3 separate regions of the Homo sapiens genome follow, and regions 1 and 2 are each linked to region 3. The links are contacts of gene promoters, found by promoter capture Hi-C in human tissues and cell types (Jung and others, 2019). All regions are on one chromosome and are shown on one strand. Each heading gives the region's core, a stretch centred on a gene start or on the middle of the fragment in contact. The rest is flanking DNA. Distances are from core to core; before and after follow the strand shown.

Region 1 (2,700 bases), core at 133-2,632, 520 kb after region 3:
TCACATTTTTGACCAGACATTTTTATTACGGGGCTTCCTAAAACTTTCTTAGAGTCTTCCTTTGATCTGCGAACACATTTAATTACCGGCTCTGATGATATCACTGATCACCATGACTTCTGTGACCTGACTGAATGAGGCTGAACTAAGTGATTATCCCTTTCTGCATTCAATGACCATGACAAAACGAATCTAACTAATATGTTGTTTTTCCTTAAAAACTGTCTATTTCTGGAGGTTGTTGAAAGTCCTATGATGACTCTCGCCTTGCCCAGGATCACGAGAGCACAGCAAGTGCACCTGTGTAGCGGATCCAAACGCATGCCCAAAGTCGATCCCGATCACGCCGCCAGTCTCCATGGCCACCATAAAGTTGTTCAGATGTCTGTCTCCAATCCCGAGGATCCAGTGGCTGATGCATATCAGAGCGTGAGAGCTGGCGAAGTGGGAGCGGAGCGCCAGGAAAGCCTCAGGGCTTGTACTCATCCTCACGAAGGCCCGCCTACAAAAGAGACACAGCTGTGCGGCTGCTGTGATCCCACTAAGGGTGAGGGCAGAAGGGTACTTACTTTAAGAGATCAGCAGGCACTTTACTTTCTCGTTTTCTAAAAGACGTGACTGTTTCAGTACGATTAGCGCCCCTATGATTTAATAATAGAAACATCTAATTAGAAAAAATTTCTCTGACTTAAAATTTAAATTTTAAAACTTTTTGTTTATATTGAGACTCAAATATCGAATAATCTTGATGATCTCTCTGAGGCAAAGCTAAGAATCAAAAGAAAACATGCAATTTGCAGAAGAATGAACTAACTAATACAAAGAAAAATCAAAACCAAACTTACTTATACATTAGCATGTAAGCTCCAACATCATGTTTTCCTGACATTTTTGTCAGCCAATCTTTATATTCACACGGCGGTGCCCTGGGATCACTAATGAGTGAGAAAAGGGGAATTGGAATTAGGAAGATTTTAGCATTATGTGATTTCAAAGGCAAAGATCACCAAGAATTCATTGAAAAATAGCAAAGAGGCAGGAAAAAATAATAAGACTTTTAACCATATTCAATATTAACATTGAACCCACATTACTCTGGATCTTGAATTTCAATATACCATTATTCATTCTTAATTACTCCTAAAGAAATCCAAGCTATTGCCTATGAAAAATTCAGGTACAAAACCATCAGATCCAACAAATTTCCCACTGACATAGAGAGGAATAAGATGAACTAAACATAACTGTTTATTAACCAGGCATGCAATTCTGAAACTTTGACCTAGAAAGAACCATAGCAAGAGGGCGACAGCACCACAGGCGGCTGCTGGAAGCCTCAGGCCATGTCACTACCATAGCCAAAAAGCCCGCACAGTTTTGCTAAAGATGGATTATGTCTGTTTTTATCTTTATTTAGACCACTTCCACATCTTTTTCTTTTGTTTTTTTGAGATGGGAGTCTAGCTCTGTCGCCAGGCTGGAGTGCAGTGGTGCGATCTTGGCCCACTGCAACCTCTGCCTCATGGATTCAAGTGATTCTCCTGCTTCAGCTTCCTGAGTAGCTGGGATTACAGGCAAATGCCACCATGCTCAGCTAATTTCTGTATTTTTAGTAGAGACGGGGTTTCACCACGTTGGCCAGGCTGGTCTCGAATGCCTGACCTCGTGATCCGCCCGCCTCGGCCTCCCAAAGTGCTGGGATTACAGGTGTGAGCCACCACGCCTGGCCTCTTTTTCTTTTGTTTTGTTTTGTCTTTTTTTTTTTTTTTTTTTTGAGACAGAGTCTTACTCTGTCGCCCAGGCTGGAGTGCATTGGTGCAATCTCGGCTTGCTACAACCTCTACCTCCTGGGTTCAAGCAATTCTCATGCCTCAGCCTCCTAAGTGGCTGGGATTACAGGCGCCCGCCACTACACCCAGCTAATTTTTCTATTTTCAGTAGAGACAGGGTTTTGCCATGTTGACCAGACTGGTCTCGAATTCCTGACCTCAGGCGATCCGCCCACCTTGGCCTCCCAAAGTGCTGGGATTACAGGCGTGAGCTACTGCGCCCAGCCAGTGCCACATCTTTCTTTATATTTCCAATAGGTAGATATACACACAATCCATAGTAAGTATGAGAAAATATTTTGTTTTTCTTTTTTCTTCCAATAAGGCTTCTGCACTCCTATGAGAAAATATTTTCTTAAATGACAATGGATGTTTAAGTGAACTTGAAAAGCTGTTTTCAGTGTTTCCTAGGAAAAAGGCAGTACCTGGGCAATGGGAAACAATGTGATACACGTATGTTTAAGTACTTTTGTGTGGAAAGCTTTAACAAGTTTTCCCGATAAAATCTAAAGACAGAACAGTTTCACGTGTGACTTAGCAATTCAATCACTTCAGGTGAAATCTTTTCTGAGTTGCTATTAAAGTTAGCTTTAAAAGTAGTCCACTCCATCTTAAAATTCTCTCCTCCTAGTTTAAACTGAGATGAAAATTCTTAGGTTATAAAACTGTAGGCCGGGCGCAGTGGCTCAGGCCTGTAATCCCAGTACTTTAGGAGGCCAATGGGGGCGGATCACGAGGTCAAGAGATCAAGATCATCCTGGCCAACATAGTGAAATCCCATCCCTACTAAAAATACAAAAATTAGCTGGGCATGGTGGTGCACGCCTGTAATCTCAGCTACTCGGAAGGCTGAGGCAGGAGAATTGCTGGA
Region 2 (2,700 bases), core at 185-2,684, 560 kb after region 3:
ACACGGTGAAACCCCATCTCTACTAAAAATACAAAAAATTAGCCGGGCGTGGTGGCGGGCACCTGTAGTCCCAGCTACTCGGGAGGCTGAGGCAGGAGAATGGCGTGAACCCGGAAGGCAGAGCTTGCAGTGAGCCCAGATTGCGCCACTGCACTCCAGCGTGGGCGACAGAGTGAGACTCTCAAAAACAAACAAACAAACAAAACCTGGACTGCTCATTGAAGAGTCTCACAGGTCACAGACCCTGAATTTCAACACCTACACTTGAATAGCCACTGACGGAATGTACAAAACTGAACTTATATTCATCTTCCCAAATTCTTCTTTACCTCTGATGTAATTTGAATATGTGTCCCCACCTAAACCTCATGTTGAAATGTAATCCTCAATGTCAGAGGTGGGGCCTGGTGAGAGGTGTTTGGATCAATGGGGGGCAGATCCCTCATGAATGAAGTGGGCCATTCCCTTGGTGATGAGTGATCCTAGCACTTTGGGAGGCCCAGGCATGATGGCTTGAGCTCAGGAGTTCCCAACCAGCCTGGGCAACATAGTGACACCTCATCTCTACAAAAAAATTTCAAAAATTAGCCAGGCATGTTGGTGCATGCCTGAAGTCCCAGCTACTCAGGTGGCTGAGGTGGGAGGACCGCCGGAGCCTGGGAGCCATGATAGTGCCACTGCACTCCAGCCTGGGTGACAGAATGAGACTCTGCCTCTAAATAAATAAAAGTATATGGCACCCCCTCCCCAACTGTCTCTCTTTTGCTACTGCCTTTCACCATGTGAAATGCCTACTCCTGCTTCGCCTTCTACCAATGCATAAAAGCTTCCCAAGGCCTCCCCTGAAGCCAAGCAGAAGGCAGCACCATACTTCCTGTGCAGCCCGTGGAACCGTGAACCAATTAAACCTCTTTTCTTTATAAATTGCCCAGTGTCAGGTATTTCTCTACAGAAATGCAAGAACAGCCTAATACAATTTCTTTATAATTTTTTTTTTTAACTAACTGAAAGAAAACAACCTATTCAAACAGAAACTGTGTAAGAGCAGAGAAATAATATACAGTTTCATAGTATGGTAGGCCCTAACTTAAGTGAACAACCTATAAGGAAACCAATTTTCTTCCTCATCAACATTGTAACGAAAAGACATTGAACCAACAAGGATCTGCTGTACCTCGTTTTGCTTAAAGTCATAGTTCAGCAGAAAACAAAAGTGTTGAAGTAAATGTCATATTTTGCCAGAGATCAATTTTACCTCATCATACTGCTTAGCAGCTTCAGAATAATCACTTCTGGCTTCTGCTAATAATGCACTCTGAGTGATTTGCTTTGTTCCTATCTCACTGGTAAAAATCCCACGGAGGACGTCGTATTCTCCAATTGATCTATACAGCCTACAAAACAAATCAAAAAGGCCAAATCAATGAACACTCCAGTATTTTAAAAGTATTTATTCTAATGAAATGATAGTAAATCAAGTTGCCACACATTATATTAACAAGAGACATAAAGTGTTACTTTAATTTTGCTAAAAATATAAAATTTAAGAAACTATGAAGTTGCCCTTAGGTTTTATAACTTTAATCATACATAAGCCAGAAATTATTCAGATGTGCATTTAAAGTGGAATCTGGGACGGGCGTGGCGGCTCACCTGAGGTCAGGAGTTCAGATCAGCCTGGCCAACATGGTGAAACCCCGTCTCTACTAAAAATACAAAAAATTAGCTGGGCATGGTGGCGCATGCCTGTAGTCCCAGCTACTTGGGAGGCTGAGGCAGAGAACTGCTTGAACCCAGGAGGTGGAGGTTGCAGTGAACCAATCACCCTACTGCACTCCAGCCTGGGCAACAGCAAGACTCCGCCTCAAAAAAAAAAAAAAAAAAAAAAAAAGGTGGAATCTGAAAATATCAAAGGTTCACAGTGTATAAGATGTGTCATTACATAAGGTTCTCCAGTATTAATCCATTATAATATCTACAGGCGAACCATTTGGAATCCTTGTCTAGCTCCAAAAAACCCAGAAGCAAAAGAAAAAATAATCCTGACTACTGATGCCATGTTTAATCCATGTTCTATGGACCATCTCAATTTGTTGGAGCATTCATTCATCTCTTTACCTTAACAAAATTCTGGCTTGACCCTTTCAATCAAGCTTCCCAGTCCATGATATTCTCAAAGTGTTTATGGGGTTTGTTCCCTTCCTCCAGGAAATTTCTTTCCATCTTGCAGTCTCAACCCAAATGTTATTTCTTCCTAAACCAGCCAGCCAAGGACTGCTCCCTCCTTAGTTCTCCTGCTGTTCAGTTCCCTTCTGGGTACTAAGCCTCTTGCATTTACATCAAAAGAGCCCTACAGGTTCTCTCCTAGAGCTTATGAATTCTGAATTCAATAAAATCTAGTAGATGCAGCTCTCTTATTGCCCTGATTACAGAATGTTAGGGGTAATAAATCAGCAGTAAAGGTGGGTGGGTAGGTAGGTGATGGAGCAGCAGCTCATGGCCCCAGAGTCAGGGAAGAGGGAGAGCTACATTCTGCATAGACTCAGGAAAGAGATCACCTACATACCCCTATACTGGTTCCATTGTCCCTGGATTATGTTCACTATAACATGGTTAGAACAATGGCCATGACATATCAAAAAAAAGGCTAAGGCCGGGTGTGGTGGCTCATGGCTGCAATCCCAGCACTTTGGGAGGCCG
Region 3 (2,700 bases), core at 134-2,633:
AACCCCAACATTTCGGCAGGACAGCACCTCCTGGTGGAGATGACAAGCGGGAGCCTCACCACAGGCCTGGTTGTGGGAGTGAAAGGGGGACTCCGGGCGCGGTCGGGTGCACTTACTGTGCTAAGACAGCAAGGCCCGGCGGAGGTGGCAATGGCAGACCTGGTTTCTCGGCGGAGTCCCAGTGGGAGGCCCGGTGTCCAAAATCCTCAACTAGATTGGGCATGCCGTTTATCTTGTTCCAACTGTTGACAGTAATGGCACTAGCAATAATGTCCTTCCCAGGCAAAGATGGTTTTTCTTCCGTGTTTTCAGCCACTGCAGAGTGGACATCTACTATGAACCAAGTATCTGCGGCTTTAGGTACCAGATTCAAACACAGAATGGTGGCAGAACAGGGACTAGGACGGAGAGAAAACCTGAAGATGGATCAACCAGGAAGCAATGCATTCTCACAGAGGCACAAAAAAATGCCTCTGAAACAGAAGATTCACCTCCACTTCTGCGTCCTTTTGAGGCAACTTTCTGAGCATCCTTTCCTCCTCCCCAGGCCAACGCTTTTCCACCTTGTTAAACTACCCGGTAGCTTTCTCCATGGGAGGCGCCTTCTTCACAGTACTCGGACCCAGTTACACTTGTGGCCTTCCCCGGCTTCTGCTGGGCCGGCTATGGTCGACGCCGCACCGTCTCAGGCCCACTTCTCCTGCGGGAGCGGCGGCCCCAGCGGAGCCCCTGTGCGCCACGGCGAACGTGATAGGAATGCAATCTTCCGCCCCTTCAGACTCTGGCACCCCGTAGCCTTTCCTCAGGCTCCACGAGTTCTCCCGGTGATGTGATGACCGACATGGCGTCTGGGCTCTGAACACAGACTTTACTCCTTCCCCCCGGCCCCGAAACATGGGGAAACCACACCCTCTCTGCTCCAGTCACCAGCAGCCACTCCCATTCCTTAAGTATCCATTATTGCATGTGTAGCCTATTGCATGTGTAGCCTACTTCTGGTTTTCATTTTTATTTAAGGTCAGTTGTTGCCTGACAACACAGACGACAGTAACTTAATTCGAAAGACAATACTTGGAGGCGGCCCCCGCTCCAGGCACCAGCCCAGCAGCTCCCCCGAACTCCCCAGGAGCTCGCGGGCGAGCAACGCCACAGCCCAGAGCGAGCTCCGCGGAACCCCCAGCCCCGGGGAAGGAAGCTCGACTCTCCGCGGGGCACTCCTTCCGGGCTCCGGGCCCGACTAGGCCATCCGGGAGGCCCTGGAGCGCCGGGGCCGGAGAAGCCCTGCCCCCCGCCGAAGCCCCGCCCTGCGCCCGAGCGCCCGCCAATGGCAGGGCGCGGTGCGGCGCGCCGAGGTGGGACGGCGGCGCGCTGAGGAGGCGGTGCGCTCAGGCGGCGCTCCCGGAGATGCCCCGCGGCAGCCGCGCTCGGGGCTCTAAGGTAGGCTCTGGGGCGGGAGTGGGCGCCGCGCCGTTTCCCGCGTTGCGGGGAAGCGGCGGGCCGGCGCGGGGCTGGCCCCGTTGTGCTGGGGTGAGAGAGGGTGGGCGTTGGGGGTGAAGGGCTAGGTGGTGGCGGGTCCCGTCTGCGCGCGTGGAGCAAGCCCGCGCAGTGGGGTACCGCCCCCAGGTCCGGCTCCGGTCCAGGCGTGCGGGCCGGGCCCTCAGCGGCGGTACGGAAAGCGAGGGGTGGGACCGCCGAGGGACGCAGCGGGCGGGAGCATATGTCCGCCTCGGGGGTACTTGGCCTTACTCTTGTCTCTTTTTGATTCTGGTGTAATGTACCAAACCGCAGGGAATCCTGGCGTGGTTTTACCCGTCTCCGCGGATAATCCACTGTCAACTCTGTCTCTCTTCCTGCCGCACTCGGAGGGGACTGTGCGGCTGACTGCCCAATCCGTGGGCACCGCGCTGCCTCGGGTTCCAGAACGGGAGCGGGTGCCTAGGAATCGTTGCTTGAATGGTGTTTGATTGCACCTGTATCCGCGAGTGCATCCTTTTTTGTTCTGCTAATTGTGCTTGTCATGGCATGTGTCCTTTATCGTTTTAAAGTTTCTTCTAACTTCCTTGCTTTCAAATACGTTTGTCTCATAGTAAAACGGTTTTTAAAAAGCAAACACAGGACCTCCTTTCTTGACTCTTGCCTTTACTTGAAAACTTCCTGGAAAAAATAGACCACATATACTGGTTCAACTTCTTTACCACTACCATGCTTTCTCGCTTCTCAAATACCATTGATTATCAGCCCACACTATCAGTTTTGTGACTGGCTTTAGGGAATAAAGAAATTCATTTCAGGCACCTCTTGATTATAAGATACAGTCTGATTTCTGAAGCATTAATGTGTGAAAAAAATCAAGGAAATATATAAATTTGCTAAATCCAGTGTAAGTTGTTTACTTGATCATTGGAGCGTTTGACACATTCACCACCTGCTTTTATTTCTTTTGGAACATCCATGATTGTTTTCCTGTCTTGCAACAGCTCATTTTCTTCTCTTTACTGTGTTCGTGCCATGTTCTAATTTTTGACCTTGTGCTTTTTCACATGTTCCATATTTGCTTTGGACAATGTCATACATTGAAGTTAACTATATAGATGACTTTCAGATCTATATTAGATCTTTCCCTAGAGCTCAAACTTAGTGCATCACATAATCATCATCTCACCCTTAGTCCTCCAGGCCCTAACAGTTTCTCTTGACTTA

The links. The method cuts DNA at HindIII sites, captures the fragments that hold promoters and counts their contacts. A contact is called where the count stands out against the background at its distance.
Region 1: a contact is called between a fragment that was not itself captured here and the fragment with the promoter of SPIDR in region 3, in 1 of the 25 tissues and cell types used here (dorsolateral prefrontal cortex).
Region 2: a fragment that was not itself captured here is called in contact with the fragment with the promoter of SPIDR in region 3 in 1 of the 25 tissues and cell types used here (spleen).

What each region holds. Positions count from the first base shown.
Region 1 is chr8:47,778,159-47,780,858 of GRCh38, forward strand. PRKDC (protein kinase, DNA-activated, catalytic subunit) reads right to left here. Exons shown (of 86, transcript NM_006904.7): 81 at 846-935; 82 at 570-641; 83 at 301-502. Among named protein-coding and RNA genes, the nearest start is that of CEBPD, 41 kb to the left of the region's middle. The HindIII fragment of the contact is 6,770 bases long and covers 1-2,700 here.
Region 2 is chr8:47,822,603-47,825,302 of GRCh38, forward strand. PRKDC (protein kinase, DNA-activated, catalytic subunit) reads right to left here. Exons shown (of 86, transcript NM_006904.7): 64 at 1,256-1,394. Among named protein-coding and RNA genes, the nearest start is that of CEBPD, 86 kb to the left of the region's middle. RefSeq lists enhancers at 1-85, 2,680-2,700. The HindIII fragment of the contact is 5,482 bases long and covers 1-2,700 here.
Region 3 is chr8:47,259,555-47,262,254 of GRCh38, forward strand. SPIDR (scaffold protein involved in DNA repair) reads left to right here and starts at 1,384. Exons shown (of 20, transcript NM_001080394.4): 1 at 1,384-1,437. The coding sequence starts at 1,405. RefSeq lists a silencer at 1,098-1,647. The HindIII fragment of the contact is 26,545 bases long and covers 1-2,700 here.